Linked DNA regions of Homo sapiens: all the other regions are linked to region 4. Evidence: promoter capture Hi-C in human tissues and cell types (Jung and others, 2019). All regions are on one chromosome and are shown on one strand. The core of a region is centred on a gene start or on the middle of the fragment in contact, and the rest is flanking DNA. Distances in the headings are between cores, read along the strand shown. Region 1 overlaps RTF1 (RTF1 homolog, Paf1/RNA polymerase II complex component). Region 2 overlaps OIP5-AS1 (OIP5 antisense RNA 1). Region 3 holds the start of OIP5 (Opa interacting protein 5). Region 4 holds the start of CHAC1 (ChaC glutathione specific gamma-glutamylcyclotransferase 1). Region 5 overlaps OIP5 (Opa interacting protein 5). Region 6 holds the start of NDUFAF1 (NADH:ubiquinone oxidoreductase complex assembly factor 1).

The links. The method cuts DNA at HindIII sites, captures the fragments that hold promoters and counts their contacts. A contact is called where the count stands out against the background at its distance.
Region 1: a fragment that was not itself captured here is called in contact with the fragment with the promoter of CHAC1 in region 4 in 1 of the 25 tissues and cell types used here (spleen).
Region 2: a fragment that was not itself captured here is called in contact with the fragment with the promoter of CHAC1 in region 4 in 1 of the 25 tissues and cell types used here (mesendoderm cells).
Region 3: the fragment with the promoter of OIP5 here is called in contact with the fragment with the promoter of CHAC1 in region 4 in 1 of the 25 tissues and cell types used here (spleen).
Region 5: a fragment that was not itself captured here is called in contact with the fragment with the promoter of CHAC1 in region 4 in 2 of the 25 tissues and cell types used here (dorsolateral prefrontal cortex and spleen).
Region 6: a contact is called between the fragment with the promoter of NDUFAF1 here and the fragment with the promoter of CHAC1 in region 4, in 1 of the 25 tissues and cell types used here (liver).

Annotation. Positions count from the first base shown.
Region 1 is chr15:41,430,526-41,433,908 of GRCh38, forward strand. The region is part of intron 1 of RTF1 (RTF1 homolog, Paf1/RNA polymerase II complex component); the gene reads left to right. Among named protein-coding and RNA genes, the nearest start is that of RTF1, 15 kb to the left of the region's middle. RefSeq lists an enhancer at 1,250-1,750. The HindIII fragment of the contact is 6,359 bases long and covers 1-3,383 here.
Region 2 is chr15:41,283,183-41,286,511 of GRCh38, forward strand. It overlaps OIP5-AS1 (OIP5 antisense RNA 1), which reads left to right. Exons shown (of 5, transcript NR_152821.1): 2 at 2,829-2,918. Among named protein-coding and RNA genes, the nearest start is that of OIP5-AS1, 2.2 kb to the left of the region's middle. RefSeq lists enhancers at 1-444, 1,929-2,668. The HindIII fragment of the contact is 7,739 bases long and covers 1-3,329 here.
Region 3 is chr15:41,330,846-41,333,938 of GRCh38, forward strand. OIP5 (Opa interacting protein 5) reads right to left here and starts at 1,746. Exons shown (of 5, transcript NM_007280.2): 1 at 1,395-1,746; 2 at 1,070-1,136. The coding sequence starts at 1,716. NUSAP1 (nucleolar and spindle associated protein 1) reads left to right here and starts at 2,036. Exons shown (of 11, transcript NM_016359.5): 1 at 2,036-2,205. The coding sequence starts at 2,113. RefSeq lists an enhancer at 1,500-1,759. The HindIII fragment of the contact is 6,722 bases long and covers 1-3,093 here.
Region 4 is chr15:40,951,678-40,954,912 of GRCh38, forward strand. It overlaps CHAC1 (ChaC glutathione specific gamma-glutamylcyclotransferase 1), which reads left to right and starts at 1,794. Exons shown (of 3, transcript NM_024111.6): 1 at 1,794-2,137; 2 at 2,551-2,586. The coding sequence starts at 1,907. RefSeq lists an enhancer at 1,003-1,596 and a silencer at 1,268-1,527. The HindIII fragment of the contact is 19,989 bases long and covers 1-3,235 here.
Region 5 is chr15:41,306,476-41,309,580 of GRCh38, forward strand. OIP5 (Opa interacting protein 5) reads right to left here. Exons shown (of 5, transcript NM_007280.2): 5 at 2,798-3,105. OIP5-AS1 (OIP5 antisense RNA 1) reads left to right here. Exons shown (of 5, transcript NR_152821.1): 3 at 2,092-2,149; 4 at 2,245-2,366. Among named protein-coding and RNA genes, the nearest start is that of OIP5, 25 kb to the right of the region's middle. The HindIII fragment of the contact is 3,593 bases long and covers 1-3,105 here.
Region 6 is chr15:41,401,168-41,404,271 of GRCh38, forward strand. NDUFAF1 (NADH:ubiquinone oxidoreductase complex assembly factor 1) reads right to left here and starts at 1,329. Exons shown (of 5, transcript NM_016013.4): 1 at 977-1,329. The HindIII fragment of the contact is 27,298 bases long and covers 1-3,104 here.

The DNA.
Region 1 (3,383 bases), core at 814-3,313, 480 kb after region 4:
GCTCAGAGGTTCAAGACCAGCCTGGGCAACATGATGAAACCCTGTCTCTACTAATAATACAAAATATTAGCTGGGCGTGGTGGTGCATGCCTGTAGTCCCAGCTACTTGGAAGGCTGAGGTGGGAGAATCGCTTGAACCTGGGAGGCAAAGGCTGCAGTGAGCCAAGATCATACCACTGCACTCTTGTCTAGGCGACAGACCAAGATTTCATCTCCAAAAACAAACAAAAAGAATATAAAGGACTGAGCTAAAAAGTAATCTTGCTGTGAGTTTTCCCAGTAACTTCCTATACAATCCTCAAGTTGTGGGAAGTGCATCTTGTATCTTTCACACTGTTAAGAGAGTCTTTGCTGTCTCCATACTATTGTGGGTTTTCTTTTCTTTTTTTTGTATTGAGACAGAGTCTTGCACTGTCGCCCGGGCTGGAGTGCAGTGGTGTGATCTCGGCTCACTGCAACCTCCACCTCCTAGGTTCAAGCGATTCTCCTTGCCTCAGACTCCCAAGTAGCTGGGATTACAGGCGCCTGCCACCATGCCCAGCTAATTTTTTTGTATTTTTAGTAGAGACGGGGTTTCATCATGTTGGCCAGGCTGGTCTTGAACTCCTGACCTCGTGATCTGCCCACCTTGGCCTCCCAAAGTGCTGGGATTACAGTCGTGAGCCACTGCGTCCAGCGGGTTTTTCTTTTTTCTTTTTTTTTTTTTGAGAAGGAGTTTTGCTCTTGTTGCCCAGGCTAGAGTGCAGTGGTGCAATCTCGGCTCACTGCAACCTCTGCCTTCTGGTTTCAAGCAATTCTTCTGCCTCAGCCTCCCAAGTAGCTGGGATTACAGGCGCCTGCCACCACGCCCAGCTACTTTTTTTGTATTTTTAGTGGAGACAGGGTTTCACCATGTTGGTCAGACTGGTCTCGAACTGCTGACCTCGTGATCCACCTGCCTCGGCCTCCCAAAGTGCTGGGATTACAGGCGTGAACCACCGCGCCCGACTGGGTTTTTCTTTTTAAGGCAGTGTCTTGCTCTATTTCCCAGGCTGGAGTGAAGTGGTTCACTGCACTCTCAACCACCCAGACTCAAAACAATTCTGCCTCAGCCTCTTGAGTAGCTGAGACTATAGGCATGTGCCACCACACCTGGCTGAGTTTTTGGATTTTTTGTACAGACGGGGTTTCACCACATTGCCCAGACTGGTCTCGAATTCCTGGGCTCAAACGATCAGCCCTCGTCGGCTTCCCAAAGTGCTAGGACTACAGTTGTGAGCCAGTGTCCCTGGCTCATACTTTTTTTTTTTTTTTGAGACGCAGTCTCCCTCTGTTGCTCAGGCCAGAGTGCAGTGGCACGATCTTGGCCCACTGCAACCTTCACCTGCCAGGTTGAAGTGATTCTCCTGCCTCAGCCTCCCGAGTAGCTAGACTACAGGTGCACGCCCCCATGCCTGGCTAATTTTTTGTATTTTTAGTAGAGACGTGGTTTCACCATGCTGGCCAGGATGGTGTTGAACTCCTGACCTTGTGATCCGCCCACCTCGGCCTTCCAAAATGCTGGGATTACAGGCATGAGCCACTGTGCCTGGCCATACTATTGTTAATATGGTATTTAATGTAGTAGAAGAGGGATTGTACTTATCAGATGCAGTTGTTTGTTGATGAAGGAGAGCTGTTTGTTAGGTTTTCTTTTTTTTTTTTTTTGAGATGGAGTCTTGCTCTGTCACTCAGTCTGGATGGAGTGCAGTGGCACAATCTCGGCCCACTGCAAGTTCCGCCTCCCGGGTTCACGCCATTCTCCCACCTCAGCCTCCGGAGTACCTGGGACTACAGGCGCTCGCCACCACGCCTGGCTAATTTTTTGTATTTTTAGTAGAGACAGGGTTTCACTGTGTTAGCCAGGTTGGTCTTGATCTCCTGACCTCGTGATCCACCCACCTCAGCCTCCCAAAGTGCTGGGATTACAGGCGTGAGCCACTGCGCCCGGCCTAGGTTTTCAGTATGTAGAGCGGAACCTCCTTAACAGGAAGGCAGTACTAATGTCTTAACACTTCAGTTACAGTAACTTTTAACAGATGTCTACTATGGTTTGATTGATAGCAAATCCAAATTTCTCTTATAACGAATTGGTATTAAAACAGGCATACTAGGCTGGGCATGGTGGCTCACACCTGTAATCCCAGCACTTTGGGAGGCCAAGGCGGCGGCTCACCTGAGATCAGGAGTTCAAGACCAGCCTGGCTAATGTGGTGAAACCCTACTTCTACTAAAAATACAAAAAATTAGCCAGGTGTTGTGGTGCACACCTGTAATCCCAGCTACTTGGGAGGCTGAGGCAGGAGAATTGCTTGAACCAGGAGGCCGAGGTTGTAGTGAGCCGGGATCGCACCATTGCACTCCAGCTTGGGCAACAAGAGTGAAACTCCGTCTCACAAAAAAAAGAAAAACAAACAGGCATACTGAGGTCGGCTGCGGTGGCTCACACCTGTAATCCCAACACTTTGGGAGGCTGAGGTGGGCAGATCATCAGGAGTTCGAGACCATCCTGGCCAACATGGTGAAAACCTGTCTCTACTAAAAATACAAAACTATTAGCTGGGTGTGGTGGCGTGCACCTATAGTCCCAGCTACTTGGGAGGCTGAGGCAGGAGAATCACTTGAACCAGGGAGGCGGAGGTTGCTGTGAGCCGAGATCACTCCACTATACTCCAGCCTGGGAGACATAGTGAGAGTCCATCTCAAAAAAAATAAATAAATAAAAATATAAAACTGGCATAATAATGCATTTGTGAAACTGAAGGGGTCAGAGAAGAGATTACTTACCAGAAGTCTTTTTTGCCTTTTTGAGACAGAGTCTCACTCTGTTGCCCAGGCTGGAGTGCACTGGCATGATCTTTGCTCACCGCAACCCCCACCTCCCAGACTCAAGTGATTCTCCCACCTCAGCCTCCTGAGCAGCTAGGACTACAGGCGTGCGCCACCATGCCCAGCTGATTTTTGTATTTTTAGCAAAGATCAGGTTTCACCATGTTGGCCAGGCACACCTCAAGTGATATACCTGCCTCAGCCTCCCAAAGTAGTGGTATTACAAACGTGAGCCACTGCACCCAGCCCAGAAGTCTTTAAAGCTTATAAATTTACATTAAAGTAATATGGGAAAAAAGGTAATGGTAAAGACCATAAACGTATTACTATATAACCCAGCAATCCCAGTCCTAGGTATTTACTCAAAGTGAAGTAAAAACTAATGTTTACATAGAAGACTATACATGAACATACAATTACCCCCAAATGGTAACAACTCAGATGTTTTATTGTTGTTGTTTGCTACCACACTTTTTTTTTTTTTTTTTTTTTGATGGAGTTTTGCTCTTTTTGCCCAGGCTGGAGTGCAATGGTGC
Region 2 (3,329 bases), core at 49-2,548, 330 kb after region 4:
AGCAGGTTTCCTCTATGCAGGAGGGCCTTCAGAAAAGTGACGAATCCTTCTCTCCTGTATTGACCAAAGCTGTAAACAGCCGGACAACGTTTGGGCCCTTTAAGAGTCAAAGACAGAGACAAACTGGAAGCATTAAATTTTTTCCCTAGGTGTTGTGCTACCCCTGGATTAAAAGCCTGGGCGCGGTGGCTCATGCCTGTAATCCCAGCACTTCGGGAGACCGAGGCGGGTGGATCACCTGAGGTCAGGAGTTCGACACCAGTCTGGCCAACGTAGTGAAATCTCGTCTCTACTAAAAATACAAAAATTAGCTGGGTGTGGTGGCATGCGCCTGTAGTCCCAGCTACTTGAGGGGCTGAGGCAGGAGAATCGTTTAAACCCGGGAGGCGGAGGTTGCAGTGAGTCAAGATCGCGCCACTGCACTCCAGCTTGGGCGACAGTGAGAGACTCTGTCTCAAAAAACAAAACAAAACAAAAACCCTCGGGCCTGAGAATGAAATTATTAGTACTACAGTTTAACCTAACAGTGGCTTAAAATAGTCACGCGGCCTAGCCACACTATCTTACCACGTGGTACAGCTTCTACGGCGGAAATTTTACATTCTTAATAATTGAATTACAAAAGCATTTCTCCCTGTTACCTCAATTCTGGGACCCAATCCGGATCGAAAGAGTGGGGCGAGTGCTATTGATTGACGTGCATTCCAACCAACCTACGACGCAAGGAGAGCGCGCGCGAGCAAGACGATGCCCAATAAACACTCAGCCCCAGCGGCGGGGGCGGGGCTTGTGGGAACGGCCCACCGCAGGGTTGGCCACCTTGAGAAGCTGCGAAGATGGCGGAGTAAGGCGTGCCGCTGCAAACTGGCCTCTGGGCCGGGGGCGAGCAGCCCCCGGGAGGCCGAGTGCATCTGTTGGACCGTGCGAGGTGAGCCGAGAAGGCCAGTGACGGTGGGACGAGCAGGCGCCGAGGAGGTGGCGTGGCCCAGACGGGCCGGGTACGGAAGCGCGCAGGAACCTGCGAGTTGCGGGCAGCCGGCCTCGGCCTCGGCTGGGCGGGGGTTCCAACCTCGGCGGCTCCAGGGCAGCCGTCACCCGCCTTCTGGGTGTGTTGCACGGCCCACCCCTCAGCCCGTCTCGGTCCTTCCCAGTGCCGTGCCTTTAGCCACCTTTGTGCTTTCTGCTTGCACCCACACGGGGCTGTATCTGGCAGCCGCTGCTTCTGCCATCGATTTATTTTTCGAAGAATATCTTTGTTTTATTGATTTACTTATACCCCTCGCCTTAGGACTTCGTTCCCCCTCTTTGCCCGTCAGCGGTATCAGTTGAGGCCTGTTGTGGCTCTGAGTATTTTGTGTCCCCAGCCCGTTGACCTTGAGACTTGTAACAGGTTTCCCTTGGGAATTGCATTCGGGTGTGTTTATCGCGGACACCCTGGTGCAACTTTTACTAAAGCCGTCCGCTCCCACTCCCACCTCCCAAACTTTTATGATCTGAGTAAGCGGTTCTGGCACTGATGTCCTGATAACGTTCTAATGGCGCATTAATTTTGGCTGATGCCAGGGTCTTGATAGAATTCACCGTTTTTGGTTTCCGACCCAGAAGTACAGGAGTTCAGTGTACAATATTGTTTTTATAGAGACAGAATGATAGGGAAATGTTATTAGAACGTAGTTTGTGTAAAGTGGTGGGGTTGCACAGTGTCAACACTGAGGCATTTGGTATTCTGTTCTCCTTTAACCGAACGGGTTGTCTCTTTTGGTAATTTGGATTGTTGTAACCTTACCCTCATCCGGTCTCTCAGGTAAGATTCTAGGAAAGTTCCTGTTACTAGGTTTCTGAATTGGTGTGGCCTGTTTAAAACTGGCACATTAGTTAAGTTCCAACGGACACACCATTAGACAAATGAATGTTTTTGGGTATGCTCTTTGTTGGCCCTGGATTTGCTAGAGCTGAAAAATAATACAGAAGGACTTTTATATGAGACCTTTTTTGTCGCTCTGTCAGTTTATTTTTTGTTTTTTTGTCTTTGTCTCATCCAGGAGAAGAAAAAAAATATCGGCCAGAGGAGAGGAACTAACCGAACATTCTTCCTCCCTACCTTATAGAGGGGAGTGGTCATCTACACTAAAGCAAAGTGTTAGGCGCGTCCGTGCGAAGAGACCACCAAACAGGCTTTGTGTGAGTAATAAAGCTATTTATTTCACCTGGGTGCAGGCGGGCTGAGTCCAAAAAGGAGTCAGCAAAGGGAGTTAGGGGTGGGCAGTTTTATAGGATTTGGGTAGGTAGTGGAAAATTACAGTCAAAGGGGGTTGTGTTCTTGCGGGCAGGGGTGGGGGTCACAAGGTGCTCAGTGGGGGTGCTTCTGAGCCAGGAGATGGAATTTCACAAGGTAATGTCATCAGTCAAGGCAGGAACTGGCCATTTTCACTTCTTTTGTGATTCTTCTGTTGCTTCAGACCATCTGGATATATACGTGCAGGCTTGGGCTCAGAGGCCTGACACAAAGGTCTTAAGTAGGGGTCCATAAACTACTGGAAATTTTATGCACAATTATACATTTTTGTGGGAAGAAGAAGGTCCATAGTATCAGATTCTCAAAGAGGACACTGTTTCATAAAAGCTTGAGAACCACTGCTCCAAGACTTGACATCTTTTTAAAATTAATGCCAGTGCAGGTAGAGAGTAACTGCTTTCTTACTGTTCCTTTTGAATAGTTTATGATATTGATTTTTTTTTAACAATAGCTTGTCTGTTTGAGTAATATTGTATACTAAAATTACTAGCACCAGTGAGGGCCATATCCTTAATGTTCTTTTTCTTTTTAGGTTCCTTATCACAGGAAGAAAATTTTCCTTGACCTTTAGGTGCTTTTATATTCATCTCAAAAACAAAATTCTGAACTCAGGACTTGGCAAGTAAGTAATTGTGGGCTAATCGTTCCAAATACTGTTTAAGTAGCTTGAAAACAGGTACATAGAAGTGGAACAATAAGCCGTTAGCTTCAGCAGAAGACGAACATGAAAAATGACTGTAAGCTATTGAAATTTAAGTTAAATCTTTTATTTTTCAACAAAAGAAATGTATTAAATAAAAAGGAGTAATCTTGATCATTTGCTCAAACTACCAATAATTTTCACTGTCTAAAGAAAACAGACACATATTTAATTAGATTGAAGGAAATCAAATGATTAAAAAATAGGCCTGGCCCGGTGGCTCACGCCTGTAATCCCAGCAGTTTGGGAGGCCGAGGTGGGCAGATACTTGAGGTCAGGAGTTTGAGACCAGCCTGGGCAACATGGGGGAACCCTATCTCTACAAAAAATACA
Region 3 (3,093 bases), core at 496-2,995, 380 kb after region 4:
ACGGGTCTAGATTCATTAGCCTCCTCTCCAAGAGCACATTCAGGAACCTTCTGCCTCTGGCCCCAGAATACACCCAATTCCAAGCAGGCAATTGCTCCTTCTTGCTTTGTCCCCTTTGGGTGGGAAGGGGACTCCTATAGCGATAGGGAGTGTCTTTTATTCAGGAAAAAGAAAGGGAGCTGTGGGTCTAACTCCGTTTTTGAAGTTTGTCCAAGCTGCAGAAATCTTCCTGGTTACTGGACAAAGCAACTAAGAATTCCTATATTTTAACCGTAACGTTGAATCAAACTGGTCAGAATGAAATGAATTGTCTCAATGTTAAAGCCAAAACTCAAAATTGAGGAGCCTTGCAATACCAAATTCACTGACTACTTTATTGTCACTTGTAAATCATAGTACAGGCAGGTCGCAAAGTTTACCAGGCAGTATTCAAGTACATAACATTCTAGTTGTGTTTTTCTCCAGTTTCTGGGGTTACTGAAGAATTAGCCCTGGCATAGCTTATTACAAACTAACCATAATCGCAAACTTAAAAGTTCTAATATCAAGCGTGGGCAACATACTAAGGCCTCTACAAAAAATTTAAAAATTAGCCGGGAGTGGTGCTGTGTGCCTGTAGTCCCAGCTACTCCGGAGGGTGAGGTTGGGAGGATAGCTTGAGCCAGGAAGGTAGGGGCTGTAGTGAGCTATGAGCGCACCAGTGCACTCCAGCCTGGGCGAGAGCAAGACCCTGTATCAAAAAGTTCTAATATCTAAAAGGATTGTAGTTTATAGTATGTTATTCTCACTGTAAACCAAAAGGTTATTTTTTTCTTTTGTCCACTACTAGATACATCTTTCTTAGCCTCACTTCACTTGTACAAGCCACCTGGGAGAAGTGGCCCTCAGGAAGATCCTAAAACCAATACACAAATACAACTTTTTCATTTCATTAATACATCAAGTTCATATAAGAGTCAAACAGGTAAAAGCAGCATCCCAAACTGTTTTCTCCTCGTACATGTCAGTTCCACGATCCTCAGTCTCATAAAGTCAGGGACTAGAGACCAATGTAATTATCAATACGTACCTGCCTTTGAGTGAACCTTCAATGCCAACTAGGAAGGGCGCTTCCAAAACGACGTTATTTGTAACTCCTAGGAAGACAAACACGGGTCAGAACCCATACTCTGCGGGCCTTGAAATGGAAAATCTCTCCTCTAGACAGACTCATCCTGGCCGTAAATATCAGGAGACTCCCCGATTCCCTGCCCCATCCCCAGGCCAAGGAGTTATTTGCTTCCAACTTTTCATCCCGTTTTCTTCCCCAGGTGGTTCTCCGCCACCCGGTGGAGAAAGCGGGAACACCCTCTCGGGCTAGCCTCTGCCTTTCCCGAACGCTTCACTGCACTCACTGGAGAAGACCACGGCCCCGAGGGACCGCGACAGGTCCCAGGCGAGGTGCACCGAGTCGGCGAGCACTGCGTGACACTGTGCGCACTGGAACACAGCGCACCTCTCAGGCTGCAGCCAAGACGGCAGCTGCGGGCCGGCGGCTGGCTCCTCAGCCCCCAGCCCTGCGGGGCCGAGCGGCGAGGACCCCTTCACCACCTGCGTATCCCACTCCATGGAGGTCGTAAAAGAAGCTTGGTCAATCGCCCTCTCAGTGCCACCACAAAAGTCCCCCCGGGGCGGCGTTGCACAACGTGAGCGATGCCGCAGCGGCTGAGCCGCCATCTTCCCGCAGCCGGCGCCTTCCTTTCGAATACACGCCAGGCCCCGCCCCAAGCACAGCTCCTGCGTCCTCATTGGACATCATGGGCAATCCAAGCACTGGAGTCCGAGTCCGCGCACTCGTTACCTGAACAGGCGTTACAGGCCCTTTGGCGCCTGCGTATTCGTGAAGTGTGAAAAAAGCGCGCCTCTGTTGGGACGGGAAATCAGCCTTTCTATTGGTCAGGGTTAGAAACCCCGCCTTTGAGGCATTTTCAACCAATGGAAGCGCGGCATTCTTCATTTAAACTGTCTATAAATTTCTGCCTAGTCAAAGTTAAGAGTGGCGCCAGGGATTTGAACCGCGCTGACGAAGTTTGGTGATCCATCTTCCGAGTATCGCCGGGATTTCGAATCGCGATGATCATCCCCTCTCTAGAGGAGCTGGACTCCCTCAAGTACAGTGACCTGCAGAACTTAGCCAAGAGTCTGGGTCTCCGGGCCAACCTGAGGGTACGGCGCTGGCGGTGCGGGTCCCTGGGCGGGCGCGGCGGGAATAGCGGCCTCGGGGAGATGCGGTGCGAAGGGACCGAGAGGGAAGCCCGGGACTGAGGCAGCTCTCCCTGCCCCTCGGGCAGTAGATGTGGTTCACGGTAGTCCCAGTTAGAACTCTGATAAACGGAAGAGGAACTGTAGTTTTCACCTCATTTTGAAGCTGGCTTGTCTGGGTGCTCACATGATAAGCTCTATTCCGAGGGATGGTTTATTGTTTTTTGTTTTGTTTTGTTTTGAAATTACTGTATACCTCTCAGGGCGTCGATTACGAAACTCAGGCCCAGAAAGCACAAGGGGTGTCGTTAATCGTTAGACAATTAAGTAAATAATTGGCTCAGCTTCTGGAAAACCCCAAACAGACTCCAGTGATTTGTAATATTGCCGATAATCTCTTGATACTTTATTGATGGACCTGTCAGAAAAAAAAAATCGACTTTTAGGGGAGCACCTCCTTGGGTAAATTTTTATTGATGACTGTTGGGTTGATGGTCTCTATCAAAACCAGTAAGGTCTTTGACTCCGAGGCTACAAGATGTTTGGAGAGTTGGCCCGGCGCTGTGGCTCACGCCTGTAATCCCAGCACTTTGGGAGGTCGAGGCAGGCGGATCACCTGAGGTCAGGAGTTCGAGACCAGCCTGGCCCTTAAAAAATTAGCCGGGCGTGGTGGCACACGCCTGTGATCCAAGCTTTTTGCCTGTGATCCCAGCTACTTGGGAGGCTGAGGCAGAAGAATCGCTTGAACCTGGGAAGCCGAGGTGGCAGTGAGCCAAGATCGCACCACTGCACTCCAACTTCGGTGACAGAGAGAGACTCAGTCTCAAACAAAACAAAAACAAACAAAAAACC
Region 4 (3,235 bases), core at 544-3,043:
TGAATAATTTCCTGAAGGAGTATTGGGTCAAAGGGCAGGGATATTTTGTGATTCTTGACTTGTATCACCAAGCTGCTTTCTCAAAGGGTTGTTTGTGCCAATTCAGATACTTCAGCAATATGTGGATACCAGTTTCCCACTTCCCGGACTACAACCCACAGCTGGTGAGTGGAAAAGAGGACATTCTTCTAAGAAGCTACCAACAAAGGAGGTGCTCATATGAACGAAAGGGGACAGGATAGAAGAGAAGAGGGAGACTGAATGTGGGAAATGGAGAGAAAGCGAAAAAGAAAGGAATAACCAGAAAGGACCATTTGCTGGTAATTTTTTTTTTTTCCTGATTGGAAAAGTAATTCATGCTCCCTGTAAAAATCCAGACTTTTTCATTACTGTTTAAGTTTGATACTGAAAGTCCTCCTCTGGTGCCAGCCTCTGCTAACTGTTTAGGTATATTCTTCCAGATTATTTATTACACGAATACTTTTTGTTTTTAAAGAAATAGCTTTGTACTATACACACTGTTGTGCAAGTTTCCCACTTATATCTGCGACACCTTCGGAATGAATATGTGAAGTGTGAAGATCACGTTTAGTTTAAATATTGAATTAGAATCGAATGAGAAGCCATGTTGCACATTGCCCCTGCCAGCCATCTCCTGGCCAGTTTAGAGAGAAGGCCTTCAGCTGCCTCTGTTTCCCTTTTACAGTCAGTGACATCCCCTGAGGGCAGTCCCTTGCTGCGTATTGGGTCAACCCCCGGCGGCCTGTGGACTCGGCTGGGAGGCCAGAAGCCGAGGGAGAAGACCAGTAGCTGGCCATAGTCTTGTGGGGGCCTCACTGGGCCCTCCTTGCCCGCTGCTCCCGGAACCTTGTGCCTATGGATTAATCATTGCTGCAAAATCTCACGTCCAGGAAGAATTAAACCCATCGCCTTGGGGGCAAGACTAGCCTGGCTTTTGCATCTTTATAGCCTTTCTCCGCAGGTGCAGCCACCACCTCCAAAGTGACTGCCGGTCGGTCCAAGCGCTCTAACAGGCTCTTCCCCGAGCCTACCTGGGCTCGAGGGGTCCCACACCTGGTCCGGGGCGTAGCCCATGTGAGGCCTGCAAGCTCCGGGCGCCTGGCCTACCTAACTCAGCCCCGCAGTCTCTGCAGAACCCCCTGCAGCCCCGTGGCCCAGTTTCTCCATTTGCTCACAATGGCCAACGGCGTGAGGCACTTGAGCGGAATGCGGACGGTGCCTCCGACAGCTTTCCCGCAGTGCATGATCTCAGGAGGGGCCCCAGAGACGGAAGTTTACGACGCCCAGAGCGCTCCTTCTGGACGTGCCCTGGACTCGACTTGGGACTGAGTCTGTGCCGCCTAGGCTGGCAGGGACTCGGCCAGATGCACTAGCGGCAAGGCTGGGCTGACACCGCCTGGGACTCGCTCGCCGTACCTCCAAGGGGCCCAGGTCATGAGGGGGCGGCTGGGGAGACGCCCGCCCGGTGCCCGCCCTGGGCCCGGCGGGTGCCCCCTGCCCGCCGCCTGACGCAATCCGAGGCGCCCTTGCTGCATGCCGGCGCTGGAGAAACCTCCCCTGCCGTTGCATCACTCCTGCCAGGTTTGCCACAGAGGTGGAGCTGAACCAATCAGCGGGCGCGCTGGGCCCGCGGCGCGGTTAAGTGAGAAGCAGAATCCGAAGTTGATTGGCCAAAAGGGGATTTGCCCCACCCCAATCACCGCGGCAGCTGGCCGCGGTGGGCGTGGTCTCCCGGCAAGAAGGTTTAAAGGGCGCCTCCATGGGGGGCGCTCAGCTGGAGCTACCGAGCGGTGCCAGGCCAGGTGTGTGCGTCCGTCGGTCTTTCCGTGCCCACGCCGGAGACCAGCCCCGGAGGCCGCCTGGGCCTATCCCTGTGCCAGGCACCATGAAGCAGGAGTCTGCAGCCCCGAACACCCCGCCCACCTCGCAGTCCCCTACGCCGTCCGCTCAGTTCCCCCGAAACGACGGCGACCCTCAAGCGCTGTGGATTTTCGGGTACGGCTCCCTGGTGTGGAGGCCCGACTTCGCCTACAGCGACAGCCGTGTGGGCTTCGTGCGCGGCTACAGCCGCCGTTTCTGGCAGGGAGACACCTTCCATCGGGGCAGCGACAAGATGGTGAGCATCCAACCGTGCCCAGGGGAGTGAGGGGGTTGGGGGCGGGATACTGGGCGCCAGTGCCCTGGAATGTCCGGGGCTCTCTGGGCCAATAGAAAGAAATGTGTAAACCTGTGTCTGGGGTTTGTGGCTCATTTAAATGTATGTGCCCAGTGCATCACTGTGATGGCTGGAGTCTGTGAACCTGTGGATCCCTGTGTTGATCACCAACTGGGACCACTGACATGTCAGTGTTTCTGGACGTTTCTCCTACATCCGTGCATCGCTCCCCCACCTTCCCCTGCATGAATGGGACTCAGCATGCAGAGTGGGGCACTTGGAGGCCCGGGTCAGCGGGATTGATAAAGGTTTCCTTGCTGATGGCAGAGCTGATTTCTAACTTGTCTATTTCAAAATATTTCTTCCCTCCCTAGCCTGGCCGTGTGGTGACGCTCCTTGAAGATCATGAGGTAAGTGCCCGAATCATGAAGGGGAACCCTGGCCCAGTGTGAAGGGGGACCAGCAGAGAGAGCTCATAGGCTCTTGGCTGCAGGCTAGCTCTGTCTGATGCTTCTCTGGCAGAGTAGAAACGTGTTCTAGCTCAGTGCTTCTCACCAAATCACATGAGGATCTTGTTAGAATGCAGATTTTAGTTCAGTAGCATGAGAATGGGTCCTGAGACACAGCATTCCTAACTAGCTTACAGGTGATGCCACCACATCCTGGACCACACTTTGAGGAGGAATCCTGTCTTCCCTGGTACTAGACCACTTTGTCAACTGTTTTTTTTTTTTGTTGTTGTTGTTGTTGTTTTGTTTGTTTGTTTTTGAGACAGAGTCTTGCTCTGTTGCCCAGGCTGGAGTGCAGTGATGCAATCTTGGCTCACTGCAACATCTGCCTTCCAGATTCAAGCGATTCTCCCACCTCAGCCTCCCGAGTAGCTGGGATTACAGGCATGCGCTACCACACTCAGCTAATTTTTGTATTTTTAGTAGAGACGGAGTTTCACCATATTGGCCAGGCTGGTCTGGAACTCCTGATCTCAAGTGATCTGCCCACCCTCAGCCTCCCAAAATGCTGGGATTACAGGCATGAGCTACTGCACCTGGCCTCAACTAT
Region 5 (3,105 bases), core at 439-2,938, 350 kb after region 4:
GCACCTGTGTATATATATATTTTAGCAATAAAGCAGCATGGGCTGAGAATGCACTGAAATCTCATTGTGTGTCGTTACTTGAAATGGGTAATTTTAAATAATGCAGTACATACTGATGATGGGAGAAGGAGCCTTTCCAAAGACCTGTGCCAAAGTACTCTTCAGATGTTAAAGAACAAAGGACCAGGTTACTTGAGACCTAGCTGTAGCAGTTTCCAGTGTGTTGTACAATGGAACAGGCAGCCATTCAAACCTCAATATGTAATGCTGCTTTTACAGCCATAAGGAGTTTTGGAATACTTTTTCTAACATATTTGTAATTGCCTTTATTTTGTGTCTCTGTGTATCCACATACATGGAGTTTAATAATAGTATTCATTGAGCACCAACTATGTGATAAGCACTGCTCTAATTACATTAGATGCATTAATTAACTCATTTAATGCTCACTACAGCTCTAATTACTATAGTTTTTATCCCTATTTTACATAGAAGGAAATTAAAACAGATAAATTGTTCCAGTTCATGGCTAGTAAGTACCCAAGCCACAGTTTCAATCCAGTTTGGTTCCAGAGCCTGCTCACTTACCAGGATGCTATATTGTGCTTCTCAAAAAATAGAAAGGGAAGAAGTATACTTTCACTCTGTATTTTGTCACACATCTCTTTTTTCTAGAGTGAGCATGTAATCTGAAAAAAATCTATTTAAAGCTAGCCAGTTTAATTTGACGTAAAGGTCAAGCATTTAATTTTATTTATTTATTTATTTAGAGACGGAGTCTTGCTCTGTCGCCCAGAGCAACCAGGGGTGACTCAATGTGGTACTTATTAGGTCTTTTTTTTTTTTTTTTGAGACGGCGTCTCACTCTGTCACCCAGGCTGGCATGCAGTGGCATGATCTTGGCTCCCCACAACCTCTGCCTCCCAGGTTCAAGCGATTCTCCTGCCTCAGCCTCCCGAGTAGTGGGACTACAGACACACGCCACATGCTCAGCTAATTTTTGTATTTTTAGTAGAGACAGGGTTTCACTATGTTGGGCAGGCTGGTCTGGAACTCCTGACCTCGTGATCTGACCGCCTTGGCCTCCCAAAGTGCTGGGATTACAGGCGTGAGCCACTGCACCTGGCCTATATTAGGTCTTATTCTTTAAAAAGTAAAAGCTTTTATTGGGCTGGTTTTTGCCAGAAAGCATCAACCTTGCTTATAGGACCAAATTTTTGCAACTCTACGCATAATCAGACCTGGCACAATGGCTCACCGCTGTAATTCCAACACTTCAGAAGGCTGAAGTGAGGATCCCTTGAGCCCAGTTTGAGCCCACAGTGAGGCCTTGTCTCTACAATTTTTTTTTTTTTTTTAATTAGCCAGGCGTGGTGACACAAACCTGTGGTGCCAGCTATTCAGGATACAGTTGGGAGGATCACTTGAGACCAGGAAGTCAAGGCTGCAGTGGGCCATGTTCACACCTCTGCACTCAGGCCTGGGTGACAGAGTGAGACCCTGTCTCACCACCCTCCCCTCAAAAAAAGCATAAGCAGGCCAGTCGCAGTGGCTCACGCCTGTTATCCTAGCAGTTTGGGAGGCCAAGGTGGGTGGATTTGCCTGAGCTCAGGAGTTCGAGACCACCCTGGGCAACACGGTGAAACCCCGTCTCTACTAAAATACAAAAAATTAGCCGGGCGTGGCGGCATGCACCTGTAATCCCAGCTACTCAGGAGGCTGAGACAGGAGAATCGCTTCAACACTCGGGAGATGGCAGTTGCAGAGATCAGGCCACTGCACGCCAGCCTGGGCGACAGAGCAAGACTCCATCTCGGGAAGAAAAAAAAAAAATTTATATATATATATTCTGCTAGCTACATCCCAGCCAAGTTAGCTTTTCTATCCTCCACCACTTGGATATGTAATTTCTTGATTGTGCTAGTGCCAAAGGCTCTCCTTAGTGGTCTGCTTGCTGTCCTTCCCACCTGTTTTCCACAGGACAACCACAGTGACATTCTGAAAAAGTAAATTTGATTAGGCAGGCCTTCTTTTAAGGACCTCATAAAGGTCATCCCTCCATCACCTTATTAATTCCTATTCGTCTTTCAGACCACCGCTGAAACTTCACTTCTACACAGAGGCTTTCTTTCCCAGAAACCCAGACCAGGTCAGTTACCTGCTTTATGTGCGTGTATCCCTATGTTCCTTTACTTCAAAACCCTTACTAGCGTCATAATTTTACATATCTTTTTTTTTTTTTAGATGGAGTTTCACTCTGTCGCCCAGGCTGGAGTGCAGTGGCACGATCTCGGCTGACTGCAGCCTCTACCTGCTGGGTTCAAGCAATTCTTCTGCCTCAGGTTCCTGAGTAGCTGGGATTACAGGTGCGCACCACCATGCCTGGCTAATTTTTGTATTTTTAGTAGAGACGAGGTTTCACCACGTTGGCGAGGCTGGTCTTGAACTCCTGACCTCAAGTGATCCACTGCCTCGGCCTCCGAAAATCTGGAATTATAGATGTGAGCCACTGCGCCAGGCCTGTAATTTTATGTATCTTTATGTGATTATTTGAATGTCCCTCTCTGACTAGATTATAAATTCTAAGGATAGTGTGTCTATTTTTGCTTACCTTTTATCCCCAGCACCTAGTCTAACACTTTACAAATATATATTAAATTAATATTTTGATAAGTTACTCAAAGTGCTACATAAAACAAAATTATAGAAAATAGTACTTTGGTAACTGTTTCGTTTTATCATTGCTTTCATTATTTCTCTGTTAACCTCAGTTTACAACTGAAAAAGACAAATTGTATATTATTCAGGCAATTTATTAAACATTACCTATAGAATATTATGATCTGTATTTTACAGAAGTTAAAAAGTGATGTATTAGTATTCATAACAACTGCTCCATGCAGGAGTAATAGAAGTCAACATTAAGCCCAACTCTATTTTCAGACCAACCATGCAACTTTAGATCAGAGGACACATGGGACTCTGCATCTTAATTCCTAAATTTACAGTCAAAGACATTTTCAGAGATAAGTATTATGAATTCAATAAGAATCTAAAGTAAGTTCTTAAGGCAAATAGCTATAAAAGAGAAGAATCCTTAGTCTC
Region 6 (3,104 bases), core at 79-2,578, 450 kb after region 4:
ATGTTGGCCAGAGTGGTCTCGAACTCCTGACCTCAGGTGATCCGCCTACATGGGCCTCCTAAAGTACTGGGATTACAGGCGTCAGCCACGGCGCCCAACCTTTTTTTTTTTTTTTTTTTTTGAGATGGAGTCTCGCTCTGTCACCCAGGCTGGAGTGCAATGGCACGACCCTGGCTCACTGCAACCTCCGCCTCCCGGGTTCAAGTGCTTCTCCTGCCTCTGCCTCCCGAGTGGCTGAAATTACAGGTGCCCGCCACCATGCCCAACTTTTTTTTTTTTTTTTTTAAGACAGAGTCCAGCTCTGTCCCCCAAGTTGGAGTGCAGTTGTGCGATCTCGGCTCATTGTAACCTCCACCTCCTGGTTTCAAGCAATTCTCTTGCCTCAGTCACTGGGATTACAGGCGTGCGCCACCACGCCCAGCTAATTTTTGTATTTTTAGTAGAGACAGGGTTTCACCATGTTGGCCAGGCTGGTCTCGAACTCCTGACCTCAAGTGATCCGCCCGCCTCGGCCTCCCAAAGTGCTGGGATTACAGGCGTGAGCCACCGCGCCCAGCCGACATTATCAATAAGGTTTGTTGATAAATCAAAACCATGTAAACAGTATGTTTTCACATGTATTATAAACGTTAAGGGAACCAGGAAAAATTAACAGTTGATCTGAGGTCCCGGAATTATGGATAATATTTAAATTCCCCCGCGCCGGTTGCACTTAAATGATTTTACCTCTACACATACCGAAATTTGAGAAACAAATGATAGCTCATAAAATGTTTTCCAAACCCTCCGTAGTGTTACTTCTCTAATAATATAACTTTAATTATAAATGCTTTGTTTCATTTTTTTTTTTCTACCAGTAAACAGAAAATCTAAACTATTAACTGGACAATACCGCCCTGAGGTTGACGGTGGGTTTTGACAACACAATCCACGCAGCTAGAAGTGAGTAGAATTAGTAAAGCTATCCATGCCTTACCATGTGCCAGAAACTGCTCTAAGTGTTTCACTGACGGCTCACAACAATCCTGAGAGAGGTACTATTATTATTTCAATTATAGAGACGAAGAAACTGACGTTCCAAGGCTAATTTACCCGAGGTCACACAGGTAGTGAGTGGCAAAATTCTTCCGCCTTGGCGTATACCTCCCGCACTCACGGCCTGGCCTCCGGAGGCTAGACGGTTCGCCGCGCTGGGGAGGCCCCCTCAACCCTCAAGTGCCAGGGCTCTGTCGCCTCCCCACACCCGGGACACACCAACCGCCGGCCTGCCGCCGCTTACCTCCCCGAGCCTATAGTGTACCTTCCGCCCAGAAGCCACTTTACCCGTATAGGTCCATCTGCTTTTCCCTTCCGATGCCAAACAAGGCGTCAGAACACCAAAGTTCCGGCCGAGTACAGAAGCCCAGGAAGGACAGCAAGGACCCCGTAGCCCAGCCAACTGAGGTTTTTGGAGGTTTTTGGTCCACTTGGTCGCCAGTTGTAAGGAAGCAGTGAGAATTCAGATAAGTTTTTCGCCTCTCCTTCCTGTATCCTTTCAGGCGGCAAACTCCATCCCTGCGTCTTTTTTTTTTTTTTTTTTTTTGAGACGGATTCTCGCTCTGTCGCCCAGGCTGGAGTGCAGTGGCGCGATCTCGGCTCACTACAACCTCTGCCTCCCAGATTCAAGCGATTCTCCTGCCTCAGCCTCCCGAGTAGCTGGGATTACAGGTGCGCGCCATCATGCCCGACTAATTTTTGTATTTTTAGTAGAGACGGGGTTTCACCATGTTAGCCGGGATGATCTCGATCTCCTGACCTCGTGATCCACCCGCCTCGGCCTCCCAAAGTGCTGAGATTACAGGCGCGAGCCACCAAGCCCGGCCCCCTGCGTCTTTCAAATAGAACCCAGTTATTGCTAACGCGCCTGTATCCCTTCCTTCCTTATCTGTCGCCTCGGTCCCCACAAGAACTGCCTGAGGCCTCAAAAGGCCGATTCTGCTGGAATTGCCCCCATGAATTCTTGAGGACCACCACGCACCTGGACAGCAGCCCCTCCTACCAGCCCTTCCCGAGTCTCGCCCCACACGGTCGCCAGTTGCTCAGGGCATCTGTTTGTACCTTGTGCACACCTCTCTTAAAGCACTTTTTTTTTTTGAGACGGAGTCTCACTCTGTTGCCCAGGCTGTAGTGCAGTGGCGCGATCTGCAACCTCCGACTCCTGGGTTGGAGCAATTCTCCTGCCTCAGCCTCCCAAGTAGCTGGGATTACAGGTGTGTGCCACCACACCCGGATAATTTTTGTATTTTTAGTAGAGATGGGGTTTCGCCATGTTGGCCAGGCTGGTCTCGAAATCCTGACCTCATGATCCACCCACCTCGGCCTCCCAAAGTGCTGGTATTACAGGCGTGAGCCACCATGCCCGGCCAAAGCACTTAAACATTGTTTGTTTTTGTTTTTTTTTCTTACTGCCAGGGAAGACAGAATCAACATTGTATCTTTCACTCACTTCTCACTTCCTTTGCCACGCTGTGAGCTTTCTTGGGTCCAGACTGCGCTGTTTTTCCTTTCCCCAGAATGTACCATAGCGGCGGGAATTTAGTGCTTAGTGTGAATTTGAGAGCATATAGTTCCGTAACACCTTTGTTCTCTAAGGTTCCGAAGGAGCTCACTAAATACACTAGCCCTTTCCATGTTTTCTCCTTCACTAGTTTCCGCGCCGCCTCCTCTTCCTCAAATTCGGCTTGGCTTCTCTAGACTCTACACTTGCCCCCTCAAACCTTACCTTTCTGCCCCCATCACTGACTCTTCTATTCTCTTCCCACAACCTTTAATGCGGGCTGTCTCTCCATGGCCCATCCTGCCTCTACCTCTTTTCTAGTTTCAAATATAAGTTATCGGCCGGGCGCGGTGGTTCACGCCTGTAATCCCAGCACTTTGGGAGGCCGAGGCGGGCGGATCACAAGGTCAGGAGATCGAGACCATCCTGGCTAACACGGTGAAACCCCGTCTCTACTAAAAATACAAAAAAATTGGCCGGGCGTGCTGGCGGGCGCCTGTAGTCCCAGCTACTCAGGAGACTGAGGCAGGAGAATGGCGTGAACCCGGGAGACGGAGCTTGCAGTGAG